Linked DNA regions of Homo sapiens: all the other regions are linked to region 5. The links are contacts of gene promoters, found by promoter capture Hi-C in blood cells and fetal thymus (Javierre and others, 2016). All regions are on one chromosome and are shown on one strand. Each heading gives the region's core, a stretch centred on a gene start or on the middle of the fragment in contact. The rest is flanking DNA. Distances are from core to core; before and after follow the strand shown.

What was found. Contacts are between HindIII fragments. The CHiCAGO score rates a contact against its expected background, and 5 or more counts as called.
Region 1: a fragment that was not itself captured here is called in contact with the fragment with the promoter of HACD4 in region 5 in 2 of 17 cell types (naive CD4 T cells and erythroblasts); the score reaches 5.8 in naive CD4 T cells.
Region 2: a contact is called between a fragment that was not itself captured here and the fragment with the promoter of HACD4 in region 5, in 2 of 17 cell types (naive CD4 T cells and naive CD8 T cells). The highest score is 5.5, in naive CD4 T cells.
Region 3: a contact is called between a fragment that was not itself captured here and the fragment with the promoter of HACD4 in region 5, in 1 of 17 cell types (megakaryocytes). The highest score is 5.8, in megakaryocytes.
Region 4: a fragment that was not itself captured here is called in contact with the fragment with the promoter of HACD4 in region 5 in 1 of 17 cell types (non-activated CD4 T cells); the score reaches 5.2 in non-activated CD4 T cells.

What each region holds. Positions count from the first base shown.
Region 1 is chr9:20,349,101-20,354,107 of GRCh38, reverse strand. MLLT3 (MLLT3 super elongation complex subunit) reads left to right here. Exons shown (of 11, transcript NM_004529.4): 10 at 512-583. LOC124902129 (a long non-coding RNA gene) reads right to left here. Exons shown (of 4, transcript XR_007061434.1): 1 at 3,321-5,007; 2 at 1,963-2,077; 3 at 1,708-1,802. Among named protein-coding and RNA genes, the nearest start is that of MIR4473, 60 kb to the left of the region's middle. The HindIII fragment of the contact is 3,293 bases long and covers 1,505-4,797 here.
Region 2 is chr9:20,316,019-20,320,657 of GRCh38, reverse strand. No RefSeq gene overlaps it. Among named protein-coding and RNA genes, the nearest start is that of MIR4473, 93 kb to the left of the region's middle. The HindIII fragment of the contact is 5,665 bases long and covers 1-4,408 here.
Region 3 is chr9:20,394,437-20,399,680 of GRCh38, reverse strand. All of the region lies in intron 5 of MLLT3 (MLLT3 super elongation complex subunit), which reads left to right. Among named protein-coding and RNA genes, the nearest start is that of MIR4473, 14 kb to the left of the region's middle. The HindIII fragment of the contact is 2,735 bases long and covers 1,236-3,970 here.
Region 4 is chr9:20,042,144-20,047,311 of GRCh38, reverse strand. It overlaps a transcript of SLC24A2 not described here. Among named protein-coding and RNA genes, the nearest start is that of SLC24A2, 260 kb to the right of the region's middle. The HindIII fragment of the contact is 1,345 bases long and covers 2,500-3,844 here.
Region 5 is chr9:21,029,714-21,034,471 of GRCh38, reverse strand. HACD4 (3-hydroxyacyl-CoA dehydratase 4) reads left to right here and starts at 2,832. Exons shown (of 7, transcript NM_001010915.5): 1 at 2,832-2,919. The coding sequence starts at 2,882. LOC105375989 (a long non-coding RNA gene) reads right to left here and starts at 2,830. Exons shown (of 3, transcript XR_007061435.1): 1 at 2,472-2,830; 2 at 1,821-2,000; 3 at 553-1,109. RefSeq lists an enhancer at 2,493-3,053 and a silencer at 2,697-3,056. The HindIII fragment of the contact is 3,612 bases long and covers 2,451-4,758 here.

The sequences.
Region 1 (5,007 bases), core at 1,902-4,401, 680 kb after region 5:
CAGGAAGCCTTTTTAAAACAAAAACAAAACAAACAGGAAAAACCCCACAAAATTCCCCTGACTTAATTGGTAATGTACATTCTTGTTTCCATGTTCAAACTTAGAATTTTTTTCTCTTAGAAACCTTCTGAGATTCAAGAATGAAAAAAAAATGAAAGTAGCCTTTGTTAATATGTTTAAACTCACAATTTAGCATTTAATTTCCCTACCTTTTGTAGAGATATTGTTGGAGGAAAGTGAGTCTACTGACTTGAATCTTCATAAGAGCAATTAAGTCCAAGAATTCACTCCAACTCCCTTTTTGAAGTTGGTGTGATAAAGGTAATGACTGGTCCAAGACAGGCTTGTTCTGCAGAGGCCTTTGGGCACTGAGTGCACACAGCCTGGGCTAGAGTGGTGTAATGAGAAACCTCCAGCTGCTGCTGCCTGTGTGTTCTTACTTACATATTCATTTATTTTTGAACTACTACTTAAAGTGCTTGTCCTTTTCGGGGACATTCTTCTCTTTCAGGCATACCTAGATGAACTGGTAGAGCTTCACAGAAGGTTAATGACATTGAGAGAAAGACACATTCTGCAGCAGGTGAGAAATGCTTTTTAGCACAACCCTTTCCAGAAACTTCAAGACTTGGTTTGTCCTGCAGTAGTGTGATAGCACCTGGAGGCCACTGCAGCCCCACGCTATCAGAACCTGGCGAATGCCACCTGTAGATGTATTTGGGAAAGGTTCTCATTTCTGAGGCCACCTAGAAGTCTGCTCTGGAGCTCTATGGCAACTGTTCTCCCTCCTCTAGTGCAGTGGATGGTGAGAACTGGGCAATTTGGGAAGTGATACTGGATTGTAGTGATCCCTCAGATGGCTGGTGTAATGTGGGCTCAGGGAGGGGACAGTAGAAATGCAAAAAGCTTTGGGGCCAGGCTTCTGGTTTCATGGGAAAACAGTGATAAGAATTTGAGTCAAGTGTTGTAAACATTTGTGATTCAATTTAGTAACCTTTGCCAATGATATTCTAAGGAAAATAAATATTTTCTTCATTTCCCTTATCTTGTATGACATACATTCTATTATTATGAACTCAACTGTGGAATACTTGTAGTGGAATACTTGTAGAGTGGGGAAACTTCTATTAGTATAATTTGATGTTTTGAGAAGATAAGAAGGGTGGTTTTTCATTTTCATTCAGTTAATGATGTATGCCTCTGTTGCACTACCAGCAGCTATTGGTAATTTTTTTTAACACCCAAAGAGAAGAATGTGTGTTCTAAATTCCAGGGCAGACATGTAGATTGTTTCGCTGTTTGAATTTTTTTCTTCTTTTTTTTTTTACTACTTTCAAATGACTTGACGTTAGTACTTAATCTACCCCAGCTGTGTGTGGGTTTTTTTTTTTTTTTTTAACATTTAATGGCTGGTGGTCACATTTATATTCTGTGTACATTTTTGCTTACATCTATAAATATATACTCTCAAACTTGCCAAGTTTCCTGACTGGCCTGATAAGCTTTTTAACCCTTGTAGAATTTTAGATTTGAACAAAAGACTACAGACCTATGATTCTTAATTGCAGATAAGTTGCATTTCTTGCAGTTTCTTTTTAGTTAGTATGGGTAAGGAAGCAGGACTTAAGTGGCCTACCATGAGTGGTGGTCTAGTACTTTGCTAATATTCTTCTTAGGCCTCTTTTGAAGAACCGAACGTTGTTTTACCTGTCATTTTCCAAATATTTGGGGCTGGCATAATGCTGATTGCAGATCTATTGCATGATCTTTCTCGTCTCTTCCCAAACACCAGCTCTGAACCACTGTGGAGCAATTGTCCAATAAAGCTATTAATGCCCAAGCTGGGCCCAAATAGTGAGTCTCATAGGAGGGTGGGACAGATGTTTGTGCAGGGTTGGGACATCTTCACAAAGAAAGCCCTATCAGTTAGTCAAGGATACTAGGCCATTGGGCAGATCTTACCTTGGGGTGTCATTGGCATTCGCAATTTAATGTTGTCCTTTATTTTGACCTTATAAGAATTGCGAAGAAAGGTGGCTTACTGGAGAACTCCATCCAAGTGGATTATTTTAGTATTCTAGAGGGAGAGAGTAATATCTGTGAATTTTTAACCTGGCATAAAGGCACTCCAGGGCACACAGCATTTCACCCTAATTGCATTCCCAGGCCGGTTGAAAGCTCTCAGTCTTTGGCCTTTTGCCTTGTAATGCAGCTGAGGCTTGTGATTATGATACCATGATGCATGTCCTGTCACGGTTTACTGCTTAATTAATTCCTTTTGTAAAACATAGCACTATTGAGGACTAATGTTATTCTCCACCTTGAGGGCTGCTCATCTCATGGAATTCATTCCACAAAGTCTACGTATTCTCTGCCGTGCAGACTTGAACACCTGAAGCAGAATTTCTGGTGGGCCCAGGATCACATCTAGGTCCTTTCCTGTTAAATGCATCCTATCCAAAAATCTGGCCTGACGATTTTATTTGGCTCACAAAAAGCGGTTAATAACTTTGTTTTCCTCTGGGGGCATGCAGTCCTGGCACTCGGCAGCTAGTTTAATGAACAGACAGCATTGGATCAAGGAGCCTGTGTTCCTAAGCCACTTTTTCAAAGGGTATAAATACAGTAGAGTAGACACAGTCAAACCAAGAGAAGTGATTACCTAGGACTGATGAATAATTTGATTGCTCTTTAAACCACATGTTCCACATTTATTTGGAAAGTGAGATTGAACATATGTAACCTCCCCAGCAATTCAGCTCTAAGCCTGGATTTGCATCCACGTCTGGGGGAAGAAAACTCTGTGGGAAACCAGGTTTCCTAAGAGAGTAGTTTAGCAATTTAGAAGCCAGCCGTCATTCTTTTCGAATTGTCTGCAGGGAATGGGGAATCTGTGGCGTATTAGAATATTCCTTCTAAGAACCCAGAGAACCCTCCCTGAGAAATGTTCTGATGAAAATGATGTTCTCCATCCTGGGAAATTACTTGTCATATCTCAGCACCCCTTGTAGATTGGAGCCTGATGGCCTATCCCTTAACCAAGGGTAGGGCACACATTTTTATGTGGTGGTTGTCCGTGCTTTCCAGACCATAGTAGAGGCCATTCTATGGGAAGACCTATGTTATCCCAGATCTGGCTCTACTCCATAGAGAAGCAGTTAAAGTAAGGCCTGTTCATTACTCCCCACACAGCGAAGAGGCTGCTTCACATGGAAAGAACCCTGGTTTTTGAAATTATAATCAGACCAAAATCAATGCATTTACCTTTTTATAATTAAAAATTGGGGAAGGGAGCCACAGATCTGACAAGTGGATCTTACCCTGTTTAAAACAAAATGAGACATCCAACAGCCTGCGTAGTACCGCTTGAAAGGCTGATGTGGCAGGAAATAATCCATCATGAATGTTTTCACAACAACCATCATCTGAAGAATGAGTTAAGCAGTTTACACACTCTTCCTTTTCCACTACCCATATGTACCTGGTTGCCTGTTTTTCTTTCTTTCTTTTTTTGAGACGGAGTCTCGCTCTGTCGCCCAGGCTGGAGTGCAGTGGCGGGATCTCGGCTCACTGCAAGCTCCGCCTCCCGGGTTCACGCCATTCTCCTGCCTCAGCCTCCCAAGTAGCTGGGACTACAGGCGCCCGCCACCACGCCCGGCTAATTTTTTGTATTTTTAGTAGAGACGGGGTTTCACCGTTTTAGCCGGGTTGGTCTTGATCTCCTGACCTCGTGATCCGCCCGCCTTGGCCTCCCAAAGTGCTGGGATTACAGGCGTGAGCCACCGCGCCCGGCCGCCTGTTTTTCTTATCTGCAGTCACTCTATCTACTATTATTATTATTTTGGACAGACGTTAATTATTGCACTATGATGCAGAGTAATGACGTCAAGGTCAAGCCACACTGCATCAGCAAAGAGGGTATTCCTGTAGAAAGGCACAGTGGAGTTCTTCAGGCACTCATGGGGTGTGTTCAGGCTTTGTGGCCTGTGTCAATGGAATAAAGCATGTTAATGTTGTTTCTGACGTTCTAACTATCAGGATTCCTGGAAAGCAATGCACACTTATTTTTCTTTATGGAGCCCTTACTTAAATGAGGATGTGGGCACATGCTCTAATAATTCAAATCATTAATGCCATTCCCTTTGGCAAATAATTCCCAACTCCCCAGCTGCTGCCACTGCTACTACTTTAAGGCTGTTTCTCTGCATCTACCTTGATGTATTCTTGTGGGCTCTCATAAAAACGTGGGGCTCATTTAGTTAGATTTATCAGATCCCCTTTATATTGTTGTGCATGTGTGGCTGCAGGCCGGGCACAACATGGTGATAGAGGAGGTAGCGGGTGGTGATGGAAGTACTGGAGATCTGCAAGATAGCACAATGCATGAGAAATGCCCGGGCTGACGTTTCTAGTGGGCAAAAGTGTTTATATGCTTTAAAATTAAGTGGCTTTTTTTCTAGAAGGGATTTTTTTATTGCCCAGTTTTCTATTTGTTATTAAATAATTAGGGAACAACTATATTGGGTCGTGGAAAACTGTTTTCTTAAAAGAATGAGTTACAATTTTTTTTTTTTAATTCAAGCCGGCCTTTCTGAGTTTTAGTTTCTGCATTTTCTTGCCTCATTTATTTTAGTGCTAATGAAATGGCTAACACTCATTGGGGGCGAGAGGAAAAAGCATCAGGTCTATAATTCATGTGCAGTTTAGTCACCTCCCAGATAATTAAGGATCAGTTTATAAGGTAATCATAATCATGTTATCCTGACTTAGGTAGCAATTTACCATTTATAAGAAGCTTTATTTATGATACCTTATTTGATCATCTGCCCAAACTTGTACAAGTAGAACAGGTAGCATTACTCTCATTTTCCAGATGAGGAAACTGAGGCTCAAAGGTTATGATGTTCTGTCTAATACCATTGAAAAAGTTTGCAGAGTCAGAACTTGATATGCCAGATCCAGAACTCTATTCTGAATGCTTTGTCAATTACCTACTGGGCAGCTCGC
Region 2 (4,639 bases), core at 327-2,826, 710 kb after region 5:
GAATTTGGTTACATTAAAAAATACATCTGTATTCCTTTTATCATGCAGATGAAGTAAAAAGGAGTATATAAAATAAATTTATAGTTTTGCATTTAAAAGAGACACAGACAGAGAGAGAAAGAGACATCTTTGGCCTTTGTTATTTGTTTGACATCTGCAGTCCTGCTGGACCACTAGCTTGGTGAGGGCAGCTGGCAGGCAAGCCTGTGTGCTGTTGTAGCCAAGCCCCTAGCACAGCTCATAGTAGGGGCTCAGTAAATGTTGAATTAATAATTAATCTCCATATCAAATTTCCTCTTTGTCCGCAGTCATGAAATTCATACGTGTCTTAAGTTTCAAAGCACTGAGTGAATATAGCTTGCCCTAAAGCAAACAAACAAAAATAGCATTGCTTGGAAAGATCTCGTTTAGCACCTTAGTTACCACAAGTGCTCATTAGGGCTTTCTTTTTCTCTTGAAGGTGTACATTTGGCTGAGCGTGTGTAAGTGGGTTATGTGACTAGCCAAATGCCTTCTCTCTTCTGTACTTGAAGCCCTGCTCTCCCAAGCTGAAGAGTAGATGACTACAGGGAAAATGTGACTCATAGCAAGTGTTGTTATTAAATCACCTTGAAGTGTCTCTTGTAAAAGATAACTCCCTGCATTGTAGAAATGTCTTTGACAAGAGAGGATTAGGGTGAAACTGCAATTACCTTGACATAAAGGAATGAATTAACTTTCCAACTTGCATTTTTGCAAGGCATAGATTCAAGCTGCTTGGAATATAAACATTGAACACATTCACAATAGCTTGGGGCACTTGAAAATTCTAAAGATGGGCAAGGAGCCCCAAGATGCTAGGCAACTTCAGAGGTATTTCTCACCACAGAGGGAGTGCCTGTCTGGACAGAAACCGCCAGTGCAGTTGTGCAGTGTCTGCTCATGTGTCAGCAGGGTTTAGGGGACCGTCAGGACGAATGCCTCCTGGAGCTGATGCCTGCAGGGTCTGCCCGGAGGAAACAGAGAAATGCTCTTCCAAGATTTGACTTCCAAAACTACCCATTCACTCGACTCAGGAAATATTGACCGAGCACTTACTATGCGTTGGGGCGTTGGGCCGTGAGTTCAGGCAGTCTTGGCTGTCAGGGACTTGGAAAAGTCACACGTTAAACAAATCGTGTGGGCATGAACCTCAGTCAACAATTCATGTGCAAAAATACACACTTTTGTTTGTTTTCTTTAAGTCAAAGCTGACTCTAAGCTCTCATCCTGCCAGGGCAGCAGGAAATTCCAACTCCTAGTTTTGCACCAGAAGCCCAGGGCCTTCACGAGGATTCTGAAAACACAGGAAGGGCCTCTGGTTTCTGGTCCATCATAGCTGCTGCCAACATCTCTATTTTACCTCAGTCTCCAGATGGGCAAGCAGGCCAAGATGTGAGGCAGCTCAGTGTGTTCTGCTGTGTCAGTGTGACCTGTGGGTATATGAATGTCCACCTGAGCTGGAAAGTCCATGACAAGGCCCTGGCGTCCTCAGGTGCACGCCTTGGCCATCTCTCTGAGGAATATTCACAGCTCCCTAGGCACACTTCTGTCGGAGACACAGGCAGGCTCTAACCAGGGAGGGGAGGGGGTGGTCTGCAGAATAGGGCCTGAGCCACCCTTGGATGATAGGGGAGTAGGTACTCTTGTCCAACTTCTAATAGGAGACTGGGCACTTAATTGTCCAATTTCTTTCCTCTATCATCTGTCATATTCTTAACAGCAGCCATGTCAACATATGACTTAAAATTGTTAAAAAGCCCAGCATGTTGGGAGGCCAAGGTGGGAGGATCTCTGGAGGCCAGGAGTTTGAGGCTGTAGTGAGCCATGATTGTGTCCCTGTATTCCAGTCTGGGTGACAGAGGAAGACACCAACTCAAAACAAAAAATTGTTTAAAAGGCTGAATTTTTAGTAAATGTATTCAGGGGAAAAGTATTCCACTAACACTTGGTTACATTTCAGTCTGGTCTCTGCTAAGCTCAGCATCTGTCTACCGTCATCCACCTTGAGAATTTCTCTCCTCTCTTCCTGTCATCGAAGGAAGGGCTCTCACCCTTTGCTTTGCCTGCAAAGGACTGGGTGTTTTACATGAAGAACAATGTCTTCCTTCAGCTTCCACTTTCTCTCTGGAAAAATCCCTGCAGCAAAGGAATGCAAAGCCAGGCACCTGGTAGAAATGAAGAAATGGAACCACAGAACACCCATGAATGAATGGTTCAGCAGACTGTCCCACCAGGCCCCAAATCACAAAGCGCATGAGGATAATGAAAGAGGAATTGCCTGCAGCCAAGGGGCACATGGTGGGCTGGTCTGAGGGGCCAGAGAAGGCCTCCTGGAAAACGTGTTGACTAGGATAAGGTCTCGAGGATGAAAAAGAAGTTCACCAGGGAAGCAGGGTTAGGATGTTTACAGGGCCAGGTCACAGAGGGAGAGGGGCAGTCAGAGAGGGAGCAGGTATGGCCTGAGATCTGAGCAAAAGCCCAAAGGGCAAGAGAGGAAATATCGATGGTGACCCAGTGGTTGTTGAGTCTGTCCTTGTCCACTGGGTCCCTTACAGGAGGGCTTTCCCTCATGTGGTTTGTTTGTATGGGGCCTGTGTATTTAGGGACAGCACAGATAGAGGCAAGAAGGAATCAGAATGGAACCTACAAACGTGGAGGGGAAGGAGCCACAGCCCCTAGAGCCACCACATGTGCAGACCCAAGTTGGAATGGATCTCGGAGCTGGCGCTCTGGAGTGAGCTACTGACACTCTCACAGTCTCGGCATCTCTGTAAGATTAGAACAGTAATTCTCACATCCTAAGTTGTGAGACTTTAAAGACTCATGCACAGTGGATATTAGGCCAGGCCTGGGCTGCTTGCCCTCAGCTCTATTCTCTCCCAATCCTTGCTCTCTCTGTGTGTCAGGAGGCCATCCCTGCAATCTCCGGTGTCAGCCAGATCTCTGGCCTGTTGAGGCCTTGGCAGGAGATTGGAGGGTGGGAGGATGAAAGAAGCCCAGGTATTTCTATCCTCTTTCTCTCCTCCTGCCTGGCTCCAATTTCCTCCTGACAGAGCTGCCATGGTCCTCATTTCCACTTAGTAGGTGACCCAGGCCCCAAGTCTTGCCTAACCCTGACATTCAATTTGTCTGTGCAGTTGAGGCATGGCAGCAGCTTTCTGCTCTTGCTAATCTCTGGGTTGTATGCTGCCTCCTCTTTGGCTTCTCAGCCTCCCTATCACCTGTTACCTCTTCTCTGCACCAAATCCCCTCTGCTTTAAACTCTCAGCATGATTTCTGTTTTCCTGGATGAATGATAAGCGTCACAGTGAGTAGCAGTAGTTCCTCTTCCCTGTGACCACTGCTGTGAGTTGAGTTGTGTCCTCCAAAAAATACTGAAGTCCTAACACCTGGTGCCTGTGAGTGTGACCTTTTTGGGAGTTAGATCTTTGCAGATGTAATCAAGTTAAGATAAGGTCATTAAGGTGGGCCCTAATCCAATGACGGAATCCTTAGAAGAAAAGGGAAATTTAGACACAGGAGAGCACCCATGGGAAGACAGAGACACACAGGGAGATCCCCATTTGATGACACAGACAAAAGTTGTCACAATGCAGCTGCAAGCCAAGGAATGCCAAGAATTGATGGCCACCACCAGGAGCCAGGTAGAGGCAAGGAAGGATCCTCCCCTTTGGGTTTCAGAGAGCATGTCCCGTGTGGCACTGATTTCAGACTTCTTGCCTCTAAAACTGTGAGACAATACATTTCTATTATTAATATTTTAAGCCATCTACCTTGTGGCATTTTGTTATGTCAGTCCGAGAAAACTGCCATGGTTTCGACGTGGGTTGCCCCCACCAAAATTCATGTTGACATTTGATTCCCCTGATGGCAGCGTTGGGAGGAGAGGCCTAGAGGGAGGCGTTTGGGTCCTGGAGTAACGCTGCTATCACCTCTCTCACTATGCAGGGAATAGTTCCAGAGAGAGCGATTGTTATAGGTGAGCCCAGCCCCTCTTGCCTGCCTCTTTGTGTGTGACCACTGGCCTTTCTGCTTTTCCACTGAAAGTGAAGCAGCCCATGGCCCTCGCCAGAGCTCAGCAGATGTCAGTGCCATGCTGTCGGACTTTCCCGCTAACAGAACTGTGAACTAAATAAACCTCTTTCTTGTATAAATTACCCAGTCTCAGGAATTCTGTTATGGCAACACCGAATGGATGAAGGCAGAAACGAATGCAACAGCCATGGCAGATTATCTGGGGGAGCCTCTTACATCCAGCTCTCCCTCCCCTCCTCTCCACTACCACTTTGTGCTGCCCTAAGTACTCTGGTCACCCACATGTAATAGACATCCTCTCCCCTGCACATGGCTTTGCTTTGGGGAGAGGTATGGAAGCTGATCTCAAGCTTGATAGCGGTTGCTTTGGCCTCACCTTTATTCTTCTGTTACAATCAATAGGAGGTTGAGATTTACCATGTTTTCAGTGTCTGTATAGGTTTTGATGTTTTAATTGCAAAACAAAACAAAACAAAAAACTGACAACCTAGAAACCAGTCAACTTGGCTTAAAGAAACGAAAAAAAAAAAAAAAGAAAAAGGGCATAAATTCTAAGAACCCAGAAACATCTTACAAAATATAA
Region 3 (5,244 bases), core at 1,354-3,853, 630 kb after region 5:
AATATTAGCAATCCATGATTCCTTGACTATTCCATGCTGTCTCATGTCCCAGTATATTACCCTGAGTCCTTTATGACCTGGTTAACTTTCACTTATTCTTTGAAACTTTTCTAAATAATCTGCCACACCCCAACTAACCCCTCCCTCCTTTGTGCATCTACCATGTATACAGTTTATGTATACTTGGATGATGATTGTTTTTCCGTCATATTAAAGTGTTTTTCTCCTGACCAGTGGACTATTTTGAGGGCAGACCCTGTCTCTTAATTTTCTAATCTCACAGCTCTTTGCATGGTCCCTGGCTCTTAATTGGCACTCAACAAATATTGAGTTTAATAGTGCAAAGATGTGTTAATATATGCGTATGTATTTATAGTTAAGACTCCTCTTAAGTAATTGATGCATGTCTAGTCGAGGAGTCTTAACTATAAATATGTCTGTGTAATCTGGAGATGGAATTTTTGGTCTGTCTTCTTTATGGAGGTGGACTAGACAGGTCACATGAGTGAGAGAACTCCCTGTACAAATAAGACAAGTCTTGGCCCTCTCAGAGGTACACAGTACAGGGTGTAAGCCACCCTTATGCAAATAAGTTTATATAACAAAATCCTAGGATAAATTGGAGGTCACAGTAAGCAAGTTGCATAAATTGGATTTCACTCTTACCTGCCCGGGCAGCCCCTTGCCTTTGTGTTGGAGTACATAAGCCAGCCAAGGAGTGTGTAGCTCTTGAAAACTCCAACAGAAAGAGAAGAGAGTTGTTTTTTTTGTTTGTTTGTTTTTTAGCTGATTTCACCGTGAAGGGTATTAAACCACAAAAATAACACAGGGGCAGCAAGGACCACAAACTAATCTTTTATTGAGACAGCAGAGGGATGTCAGAGTCTAAAATTCCGAGACATTTGCTTCTCTATTTTAAAAAAGCAAATAGTTTTCAGAGAAATTTCAATAACAGGATGTTGCAGTGAAAGAAATTTCTGCCTCCCTATTTCCTATAGGGGCTGTGCAGGGGCATGATAACATGAAAGTTATATGGCCACCTTGTTTTTGCTGTCTTTGTGATCGTGAAATATGATTATATTCCCTCTAATGTTTACAGTGCTCTTGAAATTATTGGAACGGGTAAAATGCCCCTTGTATACCGTGTAAAAGGGACTTGCTTCCCCCACTCCCCCAATTTCTGTGTCCTCAGGTTGCATAATTGTCAAGACAGAATAGCTTTAAATTAATAAGCTTAATTTGGCTGTTAAATATTTATTAAACCATCACATCTGAGTAACTACAACCGTATAATTAAATGTTTATTGTAGCCATGTAGCTCATGCCTGTAATCCCAACATTTGGGAAGCTGAGGCAGGAGGACTGCTTGAAGCCAGCCGTTTGACACCAGCCTGGACAACAAAGGGAGACTCTAAAAAAACTAAAAAATAAGCTGAGTGTGGTGGCACACACCAGCTGCTCGAGAGACTGAGGTGAGGGATTACTTGAGCCTAGGAGTTCAAGACTGCATGAGCTGTCCTTGTAACACTGCACTCCAGCCTGAGTGAGACCCTGTCTAAAAATAAAAAAAAATTAAAAATTAAAAATATTCATTGTATATGCAGAAGAATGAATGAAAAAATGCAAAAGATATAAGTTTCTAACTAAAAGGGGCAAGTATTGTGAAAGAGAGTTATATTGAACACTAGCATAGTGACAGAAACAAGATGTGGAAGATGAAGTTAGTTCCCCTAAAAATTAGGGTCTTAGTTGTGTCTTTGTTGGCACTTGTATTTGGAAATACATATATATTTAATTATATTCATTGGATACACTGTAGCATTTCTAAGAGTGGTTTTAAAAGAGCCATTACATCTATGAGACAAAAATTATACCCAAATATAATTTATCACTGTGGGATGCTGAGATTATTAAGAGAAAAAAAATGAACTCTAAAGACAGCAGTCATCATTTTAGAAAGGAAGATGTTATCACAACCTTCTGTTTTCTTAAGGAAAGGCATAGCCTCAGCACATGTACTTTGAAACCTTATTAAGACACCCTAAAACTTAGGTAAATATAGATTGATGGGTTGCCTCCTGTATTCACTTCTGGAGATCCCCTAAGTTGTAATTTGCATGCTGATGGGTCCTGCAGAGCTGCCTTTCTACCCAGCTTTTATAGGGCCCTACATGTTCCGCAGTCAAAAGAAGCTCAAGTAATGAGCCTGCACTGATAACAATTCTCTCCAATCGCCTGAAAAGCATACTCACTCTTGCCAATCGCTGGTGGGTGCTAGCTTATACTGTGTACTTCTGCTCCCAAAAGTTGAACGTTATACTCACTGAGAAGCCAATGTAGTTGTTCCCAAAGATATGTATCAGTTGTTCTTCTAATTATGTTAATTAAATGTTTTAGAAACCAATAATGTACAAAAAGCAATTGTTTCTATGAAAACTAAGTTGAAACCTGATGGGGAATCCCTTGAAAAAATATGCTTTCAAATAAGGTATAAAACACCAAGGCAGAAAAAATTATCAGACTCTAGAAGGACTCCTGCGTTCTAACAGCTATACAAGTCTCTGGCTTCTTGCTCATAAATGATGATCGTAGATAATGCATTGAGTGTGATTTATCTAAGAAAGATTTTTCAGACCCCACTGAAAACTGCTTGATTCTGCATCAAAGGATTGGTTGATTAATGTGTATTTATAAATTTTCAGTTAAAGCAAAATATTTAAAGTGTGTGTATGTGTTTAACTAGTTCTAGCATCTTTCACCTGACAGATCTCCACTAGCCAGAAATCTTGATTGTGCCTCACCTTGGATTGTGGTTCTTTTTTCCTTGATTTTTGAGTTAGGATAAGCCTTACTCCAGCAACAACACCCTTTGTTGCCTTTTCTTTCTTCCATTATTCCATTTTATCAATGACAGTGTCATACATACCTCACTTCCTGCATGCATTTCTTTCTAGATGAGTTTGTAGATTCTGTCAGCTTTGACGGCATCTACGCCCACCAACATTTCCCTTCTGAACTTGTGTGCTCCTGTAAATATATGCCAGGTGGTGCAGGAATCTGCTTGGAACCATAGCACTTTGGGCCCAGGCAAGCAGATTGTCCATATTTTGGTGAGGAACACAAACTGTGTTTTATAAACCAATTGAAAAACTAACACCCCAGAAAGACTCTTGAGACCTGGGAAAGGGCCCCAGGTCTGACAGTTTAACTAGCTCTGTGATCTGGGGCAAAATACTTATTAACAACTTTGAATCTTAATTTTATAATCTCTGATATGTGAATAATAGCTCACAAAATTGTGTGAATCAAAGGGTAGTAAAAAGTACCTGGCACATAGTTGGTAGTCTGTAAATTCCAGTAGAACCTGAATATTTCTAGTTTCCTTCTGTCTTCCCTCTTTCCTTCTTTCCATGCCTTACTTCACATATTGTTAGGGGGACTATATGTGTAAAAGAGTTCCCAAAGTTTAAAGTGCTACTCACAAGATGTTAAAAGAGATGACTTTCTCTTAAAAAAAAAACCCTGAAAATATGGTTTATAGTAGGCATTTTATCCTTTTAGTTGATAGTTTCTGTTCATGAGGTGACATTGCCATTATAGATGCTGTATTCGTATGTATTAGTTAACTTTTGCCTTTATGCTTCATCTTGTCTACTGAATAGAACTGGGAATTTAAAGGTAGGGATTCTGCTTTCTCCAAGAACAAGCCTATGCTGTCCTGAACACAGGATCCTGCATTCAGAAAATTCTACAGTACAGTTGTTACCGATGGTTTCCTTCATCCTGTTTACCTGATGCTCTGCCATCAGTACTTTTGTTGGCTCTTCAACAGCTTAAAGCCTATAAAAGTGCAGACTTGGCTGGCATGTTTTAATCTATCGGAGGGCATGTAATGTACCACACAGGAAAGATTTATGTTGCTTTCATTATATGTGGTTGTGAACCATGTCACTAAGTCAAAGGAAAAGCTTTTAATTATTACTGAAAGGACAGCTAAAAGGTGTTTAACCTAAATTTCTTTCCTGAATGCCAAATATCTATCCAGGGAGAAAGATGCCAAGTTTTTTCTGATGAGTTTATTACAGAGCAGTAAACACATAGCCAACATGAAAGGCAAAAACAGTTTTGCATTAGATTCATAGCTGCATGTTTTAAAGTAGCTTTAAAAGTTACCCCATTAGTACCTTTTAAAGCTACACATAAAATGCCACTTTACATCTGGCATCAGATCTATTAATTTGACTATTATGAATATGTAGGAATATTTTTGAAAACTCCTGTGGTCTTGTAAAGCCTCCAGGCCCTTATTAGCTAAAAAATCTTGCCTTCTGCCAGGGCATGAAGCCAAAGTAAGATCCTAAGTAGATAACATTTAGCGTTTGAAATAATAATAATGAAAGAGAAGTCCACATGGAGCTTTCAAGTTGTTACCCATTTGAAATACCCAGTATGGAGTTGGAGGCCAGGGGAGAAGATTAAGCAGATGTCAGGTTTGTTTCAGCAGGATGCGCTGCTTAACCACCTTCCCTCCAAAGTGCTTTGTGCCTAGCATCCTGGGAAGGGCAGTGACTAATTCATTTGCTCCATCTGTTGCCTTGGGAGACGCTATGGTTTAGTTCCTCTGACGCTTAGCTTCACAGGTGGTGACCATTGAACATAGGGGAGATTACGCCCTTTCCTTACTCTTGTGGGACCTTTCTTTCACCTGCTCTTCTCTCACATGGGTCACCTTGGACGGAAACCTCTTCCCACACCTCCCTCCATCAAAAAAGAAGTTGGTGGGGGAGGGTGGGCACAGCTTTTTAAATGGGCCCATTTTAAAAAGTTGAAATAAGCCAAGATTTCCTGTTTACTGGCATGTCATTCTTTTGTGGAAGCCTTATTTCTCCATACTGTTTCTCCAGCATTTTATTCCTTATTTTCTTTTCTGAGAAAGAGTTTAAAAATACGTTCCATGTTTGTTACAAAGTGTATCTTACAGCCAGTGTCTAACACTTTGTGACTAAAGGTAACCCCCAGAAAAGGTGATATCTCTGTGGTGGAAGTTACAACTAGTTCCATATTCTGAGTAGATCAGTTCTTGCCTCCAGATAGTAAAGTTGTACACCCAGACATGATGTCTCCTTTGTGGACCCCAAATTTACCTAGTGGGAATATTGAGTTAAGTTACCTTATCACCATCCCTAATGCCCCCTCCTTACTGCACTATCAGAACTAAGACACTGTAGTAGCCTTAAACAGTTA
Region 4 (5,168 bases), core at 1,923-4,422, 990 kb after region 5:
TATTATTAGTAACTGAAGTTTAGAAAGATTGAGCAAACAGTCTGCATAGCTAGAAAGTGGCAGAACTAGAATTTAGGTCCAGGCAACTTGACTCCAAAGCTGGTGTTCTCAAATGCTAGGTCCTGTTGCCCGTTCCCTTGGGCCTTCATGTCAACATCACCTGTTGTAACTAACCTGTTGTAACCTCAGGCTGGACAGATGCTGTTCTGAGTCTCTGGTGCTGATAGGCTATTGCTGAACCCGGCTCCTTCCCAAACTCTAGTGCAAAGAGCTAGATAGTTATATAATTAGGGAAAGGAATAGTAGTCCCGTAAAAATAAGGGATCCCTAAGTGGTCTTCCTGGTTGTTCCATCTGGACACTAGAAAGAAGAATTTAGAAAAGGGAAAAAAAAGAATCCTGGGTCTTATTAGTAAGTAGATAGAAAGAAGCAGTACCTGGAGGATCACTAGGAAGAAAACTGTTTTAAGAGGAGAGAAAAACTTTGCTTAAAAAATTGAAAGGCAATAAGTAATATCAAATAGCTAATGAGATTCTCTGGGGATAAAGGAAGATGAGTAAGGGCCACTGTGAAAAAGTGGGCAGTGTCCCACCACAGAGTAGGTTTCCTTTCCATCTCTGCTTCTTAGGTTGCAAACTGTTTTTCTCTCATTCTGAAGACTATAGAGGTTCACTTGTAACTCTGAGTGTTCACTTTCTCCTTTTACTGCCCCCCGAACACATTGTGCACACTCAAGCTGTAGTAACCAAGTAAATCCTGGATAGCATTCTTAACAGAAAAAAATGTTGTTTTTATCCCAGAGGACATATGGCTTCAAGACAAAGATGAACTCAATTTGCATTTCCTTTGATAACCAATTTTAAGGGCCCATAAAAAAGCCCTTGGCATTGCCAATCTGGAGGAAGGTTGGGCATTGTCTGCCTAAGTGCTTCCTTACTCTGTGAGTTACAGTCACCAGATGCAACAGAGAAACCTTCTGGGTCTGCCTGTCTGCCTGTCCCTTTCTTTTTCTTTCCTTACTTACTTCAGAAGCAATTAGACAGTATGAAGATGGATGCTGACAAGCCTCTGTGTTGAGATATTTGCTGGCCACCCCACACAGTGGGCACTTGTCTTTATTTTGGGCCATTCAGCCTCAGTGCCTTGGCTTCCACAAGCATGTGTGTGTTAGCACCATGAAAGATAACTTACAGATGAAACAAGATGAGGACACCACACTCACCAGAATTCTTCTTCTGAAAGGAGAGCTGTCAGTGTTGGGACTTTTGATATGAGAGCAGCTAGGAGCCTGGCCAGCCTGGGGGTGAGTAGACCTGTTCTTTGTTGCCTGCTAAGGCACAGGTCCTTTGCACTAGTTGTTCTCTCCATATGTGGGGAGTGTGGCTCTAGAACCAGCCTACCAGGTTCAAACCCATCACTCACTGGCTCTTGGGCAAGACACTTGACCGCTCACACCTTGATTTTCTCACCGTATGATTAGGCACACTCATAGTAGTTCCAAACAGGATCATTGTGAGAATGATATAAGCATGCATGGACGGCCAGCAGAACAGTGTGTGGCACATAGTATTAATAACATGTGGCCCAGTGCAGTGGCTCACCCCTGTAATTCCAGCTCTTTGGGAGGCCGAGGCAGGCAGATCACGAGGTCAGGAATTCAAGAGCAGCCTGGCCAACATAGTGAAACCCCGCCTCTACTAAAAACACAAAAAATTAGCCTGGCGTGGTAGCGGGCGCCTGTAATCCTAGCTACTCAGGAGGCTGAGGCAGGAGAGTCGCTTGAACCTGGGAGGCAGAGATTGCAGTAAGCCAAGATTGTGCCACCGCACTCCAGCCCGGGCGACAGTGCGAGACTCTGTCTTGAAAAATAATGATAATAATAATAATAATAAGGTGTTCCTTTTTTGTGTTCTACTTAACCATATTAATTCTCACTCTTCTTTCAAGTCTTAGCTGAAGTATCATTTCCTTAGGGAGACTCCCCACCTAGTAGATCAGCTGCTTTGTACACGCTCTCTGAGAAATCTGTGCTTCTTTTGCAATTCTGTGTTTATTAATGCGATCATTTGGTGAGGTCTGTCTTCCCCACTAGGCTGCAAGCATCCTTTTTACATCGTATACACAGTGCCTGGCACAGGGTCTAGCATATAGTAAGTTCTCAATAAATTTTTGCCAAATGCATAGTATATCTATACGATCCATGTATAGAAATGTTTAAAGCACCTAAATTGATACATTTTATTTAATACAACAAAAATATACTGAGCACTAACTTTATACCAGACACTGTGCTAGAAGCTAGTCAGGCAGCAAGAGAAAAGATGGTTCCTGCTCTCAAATGGTCCCCAGTATTGTTGACAGCCACATACCAGATAAATCTTAACACTTGAAGATGTAACCTGTGTAAGTCATGTGCTCACCCTGTGCTGAGTCACTCTAAAAACAACCAAGTATGAGTGGTTGGGGGTAATTTTTGCTTCACTGAGTATTATGGAAGCTTAATGACTTAGTGATACTGTGTGCATGGTAGCATTAGGGCCTATATACAAAGAAACAAACAAAAAAATAGGATAATCAGAATTCTAACACTGTAGCAGAAAATAACAATTTGCATTTCTTTGGAGCTTTATAGCTCCACATCAGTTTTCTTTTATGATCTGGGTCATTGTATAATTTTTATCCCCAATTGATTAGATGAGATAAAATATGCGTTGTCCCAAGGACCCAGTGAGGACCCAAGCCCAGAATCTTCCACCTAGATATCCTGGTTTCCTTGACCCAGCAAAAGGAATGGAATGAGCGGTAACTCCACAGCCATGAGCACAACCCTGCCTCCCAATGTTAAGTGAAACTAAACATCCTCCCTGCCCTCCCCATGCGTTCATGGTGGTTCGGGGATCCTGTGCTCACAAATACTGCTCTTTTCAGAGCAGAAATGGTAGGTTCTGTCTTTTGTGATTGCAGACCTTTAGGCTTTAAGGCTTAGCATATACAGGAATACCTCAGAGATATTTCAGGTTCAGGTTCCAGACCATCACAATAAAGCAAGTCACCAACATTTTTTGGTTTCGTCGTGCATGTAAAAGTTACGTTTACACTATAGTCTATTAAGTGTGGAATACCATTATGTATAAAAAGTTTGCATTGTGTTTCAAAATATACACAATAAAAAATACTTTACTGCTAAAAAAAAAAGTGCTAGTGATCATCTAAGCCTTCAGTGAGTTATAATCTTTTGCTGGTAGAGGGTCTTGTCTTGACGTTGATGGCTGCTGACCAGGGTAGTGGTTGCTGATGGTTGGGATGGCTCTGGCAATTTCTTAAAATGAGACAACAATGAAATTTGCTGCATTGATTGATTTTTCCTTTTATGAAAGATTTTTTTCTGTAGCATGTGATACTGTTTGATAGCATTTTACCCACAGTAGAAATTCTTTCAAAATCGGTCAGTCCTCTCAAAACCCTGCCACTGCTTTATCAACTAAGTTTATTCTAAATCCTCTTCATCATTTCAACACAGCAACTTCATCAGAAGCATATTGCATCTCAATAAACTACTTTCTTTCCTCCTCCATAAGAAGCAATTCCTTATCTGTTCAAGTTTTGTCATGAGATTGTGGCCATTCGGTGCCATCTTCAGGTTTCACTTCTAATTCAAGTTCTCTTACTATTCCCACCACATCTGCAGTGACTTTCTCACTGAAGTCTTAAACCTCTCAAGGTCATCTATGAGGGCTGGAATCAGCTTCTTCCAAACTCCCATTAATGTTGATGTTTTGATCTCCTGGTATGAATCACAAATGCCCTTAATGGCATCCAGAATAGTGAATCCTTTCCAGAAGCTTTTCAATATACTTTGTCCAGATCCATCAGAGAGAATCACTATCTATGGCAGCTATCACCTTACAAAATGTACTTTCTAAATAATGAGACTTGAAAGTCAAAATTACTGCTTGACACATGGGCTGCAGAATGGGTGTTGTGTTAGCAGGCAAGAAAACAACATTCATCACTCTGTATATCTCCATATAGGTAATAAGTTTGTTTCACTTTCTTTTCGTTCTTTTGCTCACTGGAGTAGCACTTTTAATTTCCTTCAAGAACATTTCCTTTACATTTATACCTTTGCTAACTGGTGCAAGAGCCCTAGCTTTTGGCGTGTCTCAGCTTTCGACATGCCTTCCTCACTAAGCTTAATCATTTGTGGCTTTTGAATTAAAGTGAAAGGTGTGTGACTCTTTCTTTCACCTGAACACCTACAGGCCATTGTAGGGTTATTAATTGGTCCAATTTCCATATCGTGTCTAGGAAATAGGGAGACCCAAGGAGAAGGAGAGAAATGGGGAAAAGCCAGTCATTGGAGCCATTAAAATACACATAACATTTATCAATTAAGTTTTCCATCTTACATGGGCATGGCTTGTGGTGCCTCAAAGCAATTAAAATAGTGACATCAAAGATTACTGGTCACAGACCACCACAACAGATAAAATAATAATGAAAAAGTTTGAAATATTGCAAGCATTATCAAAACATGACACAGAGACATGAAGTGAGCACATGCTGTTGGAAAAATGGCACATAGATATTGTTGCCACAAACCTTCAATTTGTAAAAAACACACTACCTGCAAAGTGCAATAAAGCAAAGCACAATAAAAGGAGGTATGCCTGCATTCTCTGCTACTGAAAAGGAGAATATTGGAAGGATAAATGAACATGTCCCTTAGCAATAAGGCCTAGGACCCAGAAGGAAGGCCATGTCCTCTCACCCCTACCTTGGTGGGTGCTTTCTCCCATGACTCAGTCCCCTAGGGTTAGATAACTTTGGTTTTCATTCTTACTTCAGAAATCTTAGATCTAGGATTGCAGAATCAAGCTGTCAGCTCTAAAAGTCCTCTATAACATTTCTTCCAGAAGGCTCAGATGTCCTTATGCAAATGAAATCCTTGATGCTTTCTCAGATATTCCAGAGTTCCTCAGGGGTGTACACTCAGTTCAGATTTCTCTCTTGTGACTGTATCTTTAAGTGAAGTTGTTCTTTTCCTTTCCCTAGACACCACAAATGTCCACCATTTCTTCCTGCTTATTATTTAAATATACTTAGAGGCTGCCTTCTGGAAAGTGCTGGACTCATGGCAGGTTGGAGATCTCCAGAGCTGTGCCCTC
Region 5 (4,758 bases), core at 1,583-4,082:
TTAGACCAGGAGAATGGCTACATCAGAACTGTGTTTTAAGAAATATTTTTGCCATCCTTAAATAATCTATGGCAGTCTGGGTAGAAGGAGGAAAGAGATTGGAGGCAGGGAGGCTGGGGGAGGCCATCTTGATAATGCTGGCAGGACGTGGGCAGGACTGGGAACTGACCAGGGGAAAGGGAGAATTTCACTTTTCATACAAAATGTTCTCTCCTAAGCTCTTTTTGTACTCTTTCCTTGGGAAATAACGTAGAATCAGCTAACTGCTTGATTTGAAAGGATTTTTTATTTTTCGACTGATTGGCTTGTTCTTTTTTGGCAACTAAAAAGGGCCTCTTTTTGTGCAGCAGAAAGATATAACCCAAGACGCTCCAGAAAGTCAACTGAGTTATGATGTAAAGAATGGATGTGAGGGAGGCCAATTACTCCTCACCCAGGTACTGGAAAATAAGGAATGGACAAAGAACACTACTGATTAGTAGGAGATCTGGAAAGGATGGGATCAATCGAATTTGATTGGATGGGGTGCTTAATGATGACTCCCCAATTTAAAATCAAGTGGCTAGAAAAATGGTGGTCTTTCTGTGGGAAATAATGATTTAGGAAGAGAGATAGTATGCTTATTTTAAATAGGTTGAATTGGAAGACGTTCCAAAGATAGTCCAAACAATAGGACTTTCATGAGGAAATATCCAAAAGCTGCTCAAAGGCCAGAGATAGTATTCATAAAAGAAGAAAGGGCTGAAAATAATAGTCAAAAGTTGTCCACATGGAGATAAAGCCATGTGTGGTTGTCTATGCTGAGGGATAACATGGTGACAAATGGATGGTGACTAAGGGCAGACTTTTGAGGAAATACAGCAGGAGAAGAAGACCCATCCAGAGAGACAGAAGGGACATAAGGCAAGAGACGTAGAATATGTAGAACTTCAGGGGTAAATGGCAGACAGACAGAACTGGTAAAATGCAGCAGACCTGTCAATGAGGATGTGGATGCAGGGGCTGTGTTTGGTGACAAAGGATCAATTCTTCTGGGCAGGCTTTCCACCTTCTCCCTCCTGCCCCACTGCAGGCCATCTGGGACTTTACTTTCTCTCTTGCTGCTTAACCTGATCAGAGATAGCATTGATAATGGGTTAGCCACCAGTTTACCCTTTAGATCAAATGTTCTGTAAAAGCAAGGACCGTGGGGCATCATCCTGCAAGGTGATACAGGATAGGGATTCGGCGAAAAATTAACATGCTCGCGGACGGAGCAGTGTCAGGAGAGTCAAACTGTAAGGTATTATGGAACAGGAAGATGGTAGGAAATGAAAGAAGCACCTGATCAGAGAAGGCAGGCAGGGAGTTATTAGAAGATTCCATTGAGAGAGAAACAGAAAGAATACAATGTTTAATTATATGCTAAGAGAGAGTTGTCTATGTCCCTAAAGTGCAGTGAAAGCCAATGGAAAGGAGGGGATGACGATGCAAGAAGAGGCGATGGTTAACTACTGATGCAGTGAGTCTGAGAAGGGACTGGTAAACACAAAGTTGGGGTTAACCTCCGACTGAGGGCAGGGTATGAGAGAAGGTGCAGAGAAATGTAGAGGTGAGAGGTAGGCATAGTGAATGGAATGGACTATGAAAAAAGGAAGCCACGGCCTAATGGGAAACAAACAAGAAATCCCACCAACCTTGAAGTTCTGATACTGCCATTTTATCAATTGTGTGACCTGTGCCAAGTGACTTAACATTTTTTTAATGCCTCAACTTCCCTTTTGGTAAAAATGGGGGCGCTAACTTCCAACTCCAAAACCAGGTGCCATTGTCCCACTTACTTGCAAGTGCCTTCTTAGATGTTTCTGTTTTTGTTTTAACGTTTCCCTTTCTGGGCAGAGGAGCTTGAAGATGGGCTGGATCTTATTAGCAAAGCAGGAGGGTGGGTCATCTGTGTACGGAGACAGTGATGTCATAAGCCTGAGAGATCACGAAGGGGTTGTAGCAGTGCTGGGCATAGGCTAGAGAAATTAACACAACGTGAATAAAGATTTGCAGGCACCAGTGAGAACCCAAGGGAGATTAGAGAGCAGGGAGGCCTGATAGAAGAGGAATCAGGCCCCTAGCTGAAAAAGTGTTGGGGAGGTGTGCTACAAACTTCGTTTTATTTTTATTTATTTTTTGAGACAGGATCTCGCTCTGTTACCCAGGCTGGAGTGTAGCCGCGTGATCTTGGCTCATTGCAGCCTCGACCTCCCAGGCTCAAGCGATCCTCCCACCTCAGCCTCTGGAGTAGCTGGGACCACAGGCCCGCGTCACCATGCCCGACTAATTTTTGTACATTTAGTAGAGACGCGTTTTCGCTATGTTGCCCAGGCTGGTCTCGAACTCCTGGGCTCAAAAGATCCTCCCGCCTCGGCCTCCCAAAGTGCTGGGATTATAGGCATTAGCCACTGCGCCCGGCACAAGCTTCGTGTCTGAACCTGGCTCACCGGTGGGCATTGAGCAGAGCCCACCCTGGAATCCACTCATCTCGGGAGGTTTGGGGATGGGCTTCAGCGAGTTCGGAGGCCCCGGAAATCGCCCAGATGCATTAATTTCCAGAAGGCTTGCAAGGGGGTCTCAACACAAAGATTAGGAAGCTGTAACCAGAGTTTGGTAACCCCACCGGGAACGCGAGCCGCCTCCCAGCCTTGCGCCCTGACGCGCTCTAGCAGTGCTGCAGAAACTTCGAGAACTTCGTTTTCATCTCTTCCCCAACGCACGACCTCGGGCTTTTTCTTTTTGTAAACTGCTGAGTGTGGAGAGGCCCCGCCCTTCCGCGCCCAGCCGCGGGGCCGCCCCTGCCTCCTCCCCGGTACTCCTTCCTGGACCGCGCTGGAAGCCCTGGCGGCGGCGGCCCATGGGGCCCTTGGCGCTGCCCGCCTGGCTGCAGCCCAGGTAGGGCGCTCGGCCGAATCCCGAGGGGAGGGGGCGCGGGTGGAGGGCCTGGAGGCGGGAGCTCCCCTCTGCGGCGGGCGGGCGGGCGGCACCCCCCGCCCGCCAGCAAGGCGCAGCGCTACCGTGCCCAGGCACCCCTTGGAGCTCATGCAGGTATTTGCTAACTTACCCCTCTTGACCACCCTAGGAAGCAGGCTCTGTTATTTTCTCCATTTTACAGTTGAATGGGAAGGACAGGCTGCATGGCTACCCCTGCCCTTGTGAGCCCTCTGCCAGTACTTCCCTCCCCCCAGGAGCCTTCTCTTGACTTTCTCAGACGCAGAGTTGCGGGGTGATTTTTAGATGTAACAGCCGTGGAAACACCTATCACACGTATAGATTTCAGGGCCTAGTTCCGGCGGGGAACAGATTCAGTCATATAGCGGTAGGGCCTGGGGGTGTATATGTTTAACCCACAAGCCAGGTAATTCTGATACAAGCTGAAGGAGGATTTCCTCTTCCCAAACCCTTTAGCAGTTCCTGCCTTTATAGGGGAGGATGTCCCCAAATAAAAATCATTCTGCCTCCCAGCTTATTTTCCTTGTTTCTAGGAGGTTTCACATCTTCAAGGAGGAGTAAATCTTGACCACACTGGCAGGGCCACTCCCGTCACTCTTCTGAACTCCCAGGGAACATTTCAAACAGTGCTTTTCCTAACTCCCTCAAACCATCTATCTGTCAATCTTCTCTTAGTCATCTCCCCAGCAACTCACAACACATTGTTAAACCCAGCTTGACTTCCCTCTTCTGGTATGAGCAACTAAACTGCTTTCGATATGTATCTGATGAAGGAAACTATCTACCCTTGCAAAATGTTAATAGGCAGTGGCAAGATGTTAATACTAACCTCAATCACATAATGTGTTCAAAAGTCAGGTGTGTCCAATTACTGAATTACCCAACATTTGGATTACTCCCATCCCTACCCCCCTTCAGAACTAAAACACTGTGTCTCAAGTTCTGCACTTAGCAAGCTGAGCTACTGGAACACATAGTGACATGTCAACCACTCTGCACACATGGATTTTTTGTTGTTGTTGTTGTTTTGTTTTTTATTTTTTATTTATTTTTGAGAACAGAGTTTTGATCTGTCGCCCAGGCTGGAGTGCAGTGGCGCTGTCTCGGTTCACTGCAGCCTCTACCTCCCAGGTTCAAGTGATTGTCCTGCCTCAGCCTCCTGAGCAGCTAGGTAGCTGGGATTACAGGCATACGTTACCACATCCGGCTTTTTTTTTTTTTTTTTTGTAAGTTGCCATGTTGGCCAGGCTGGTCTTGAACTTCTGGCCTCAAGTGATCCAACCCGCCTTGGCCTCCCAAAGTGCTGGGATTACATGCCTGAGCCACCGCGCCCAGCCTGTTTTGTTTTTTTAAAGAATATTCAAAGCCACCTTCGCAGTGGTTTCTTTTATTCCTTGGTGAGCAGCAAGGTTAGAACTTTATCAAAGATGAAAGCAGATTTTGAAAAAGCACTATATTTGGTTTTAAGCAAACTCACTATACAGATGGTCCATGACTCACAATTTTTTAAACTTTGTGATGGTGTGAAAATGATATGTATTCATTAGAAACCGTACTTCAAATTTTGGATTTTAATCTTTCCCCAGGCTAGCGATGTGCAGGTATGATATCCTTTCATGATGCTGGGCCGCGGCATCAGGCCGCAGCTCCCAGTCGGCCGCATGATCAGGAAGGTAAACAACCGGTACTCCACAGTGCACTGTGTTGCCAGATGATTCCACCCAACTGTAAGCTAATGTAGGTGTTCTGAGCAAGTTTAAGGTAGACTAGGCTAAGCTGTGA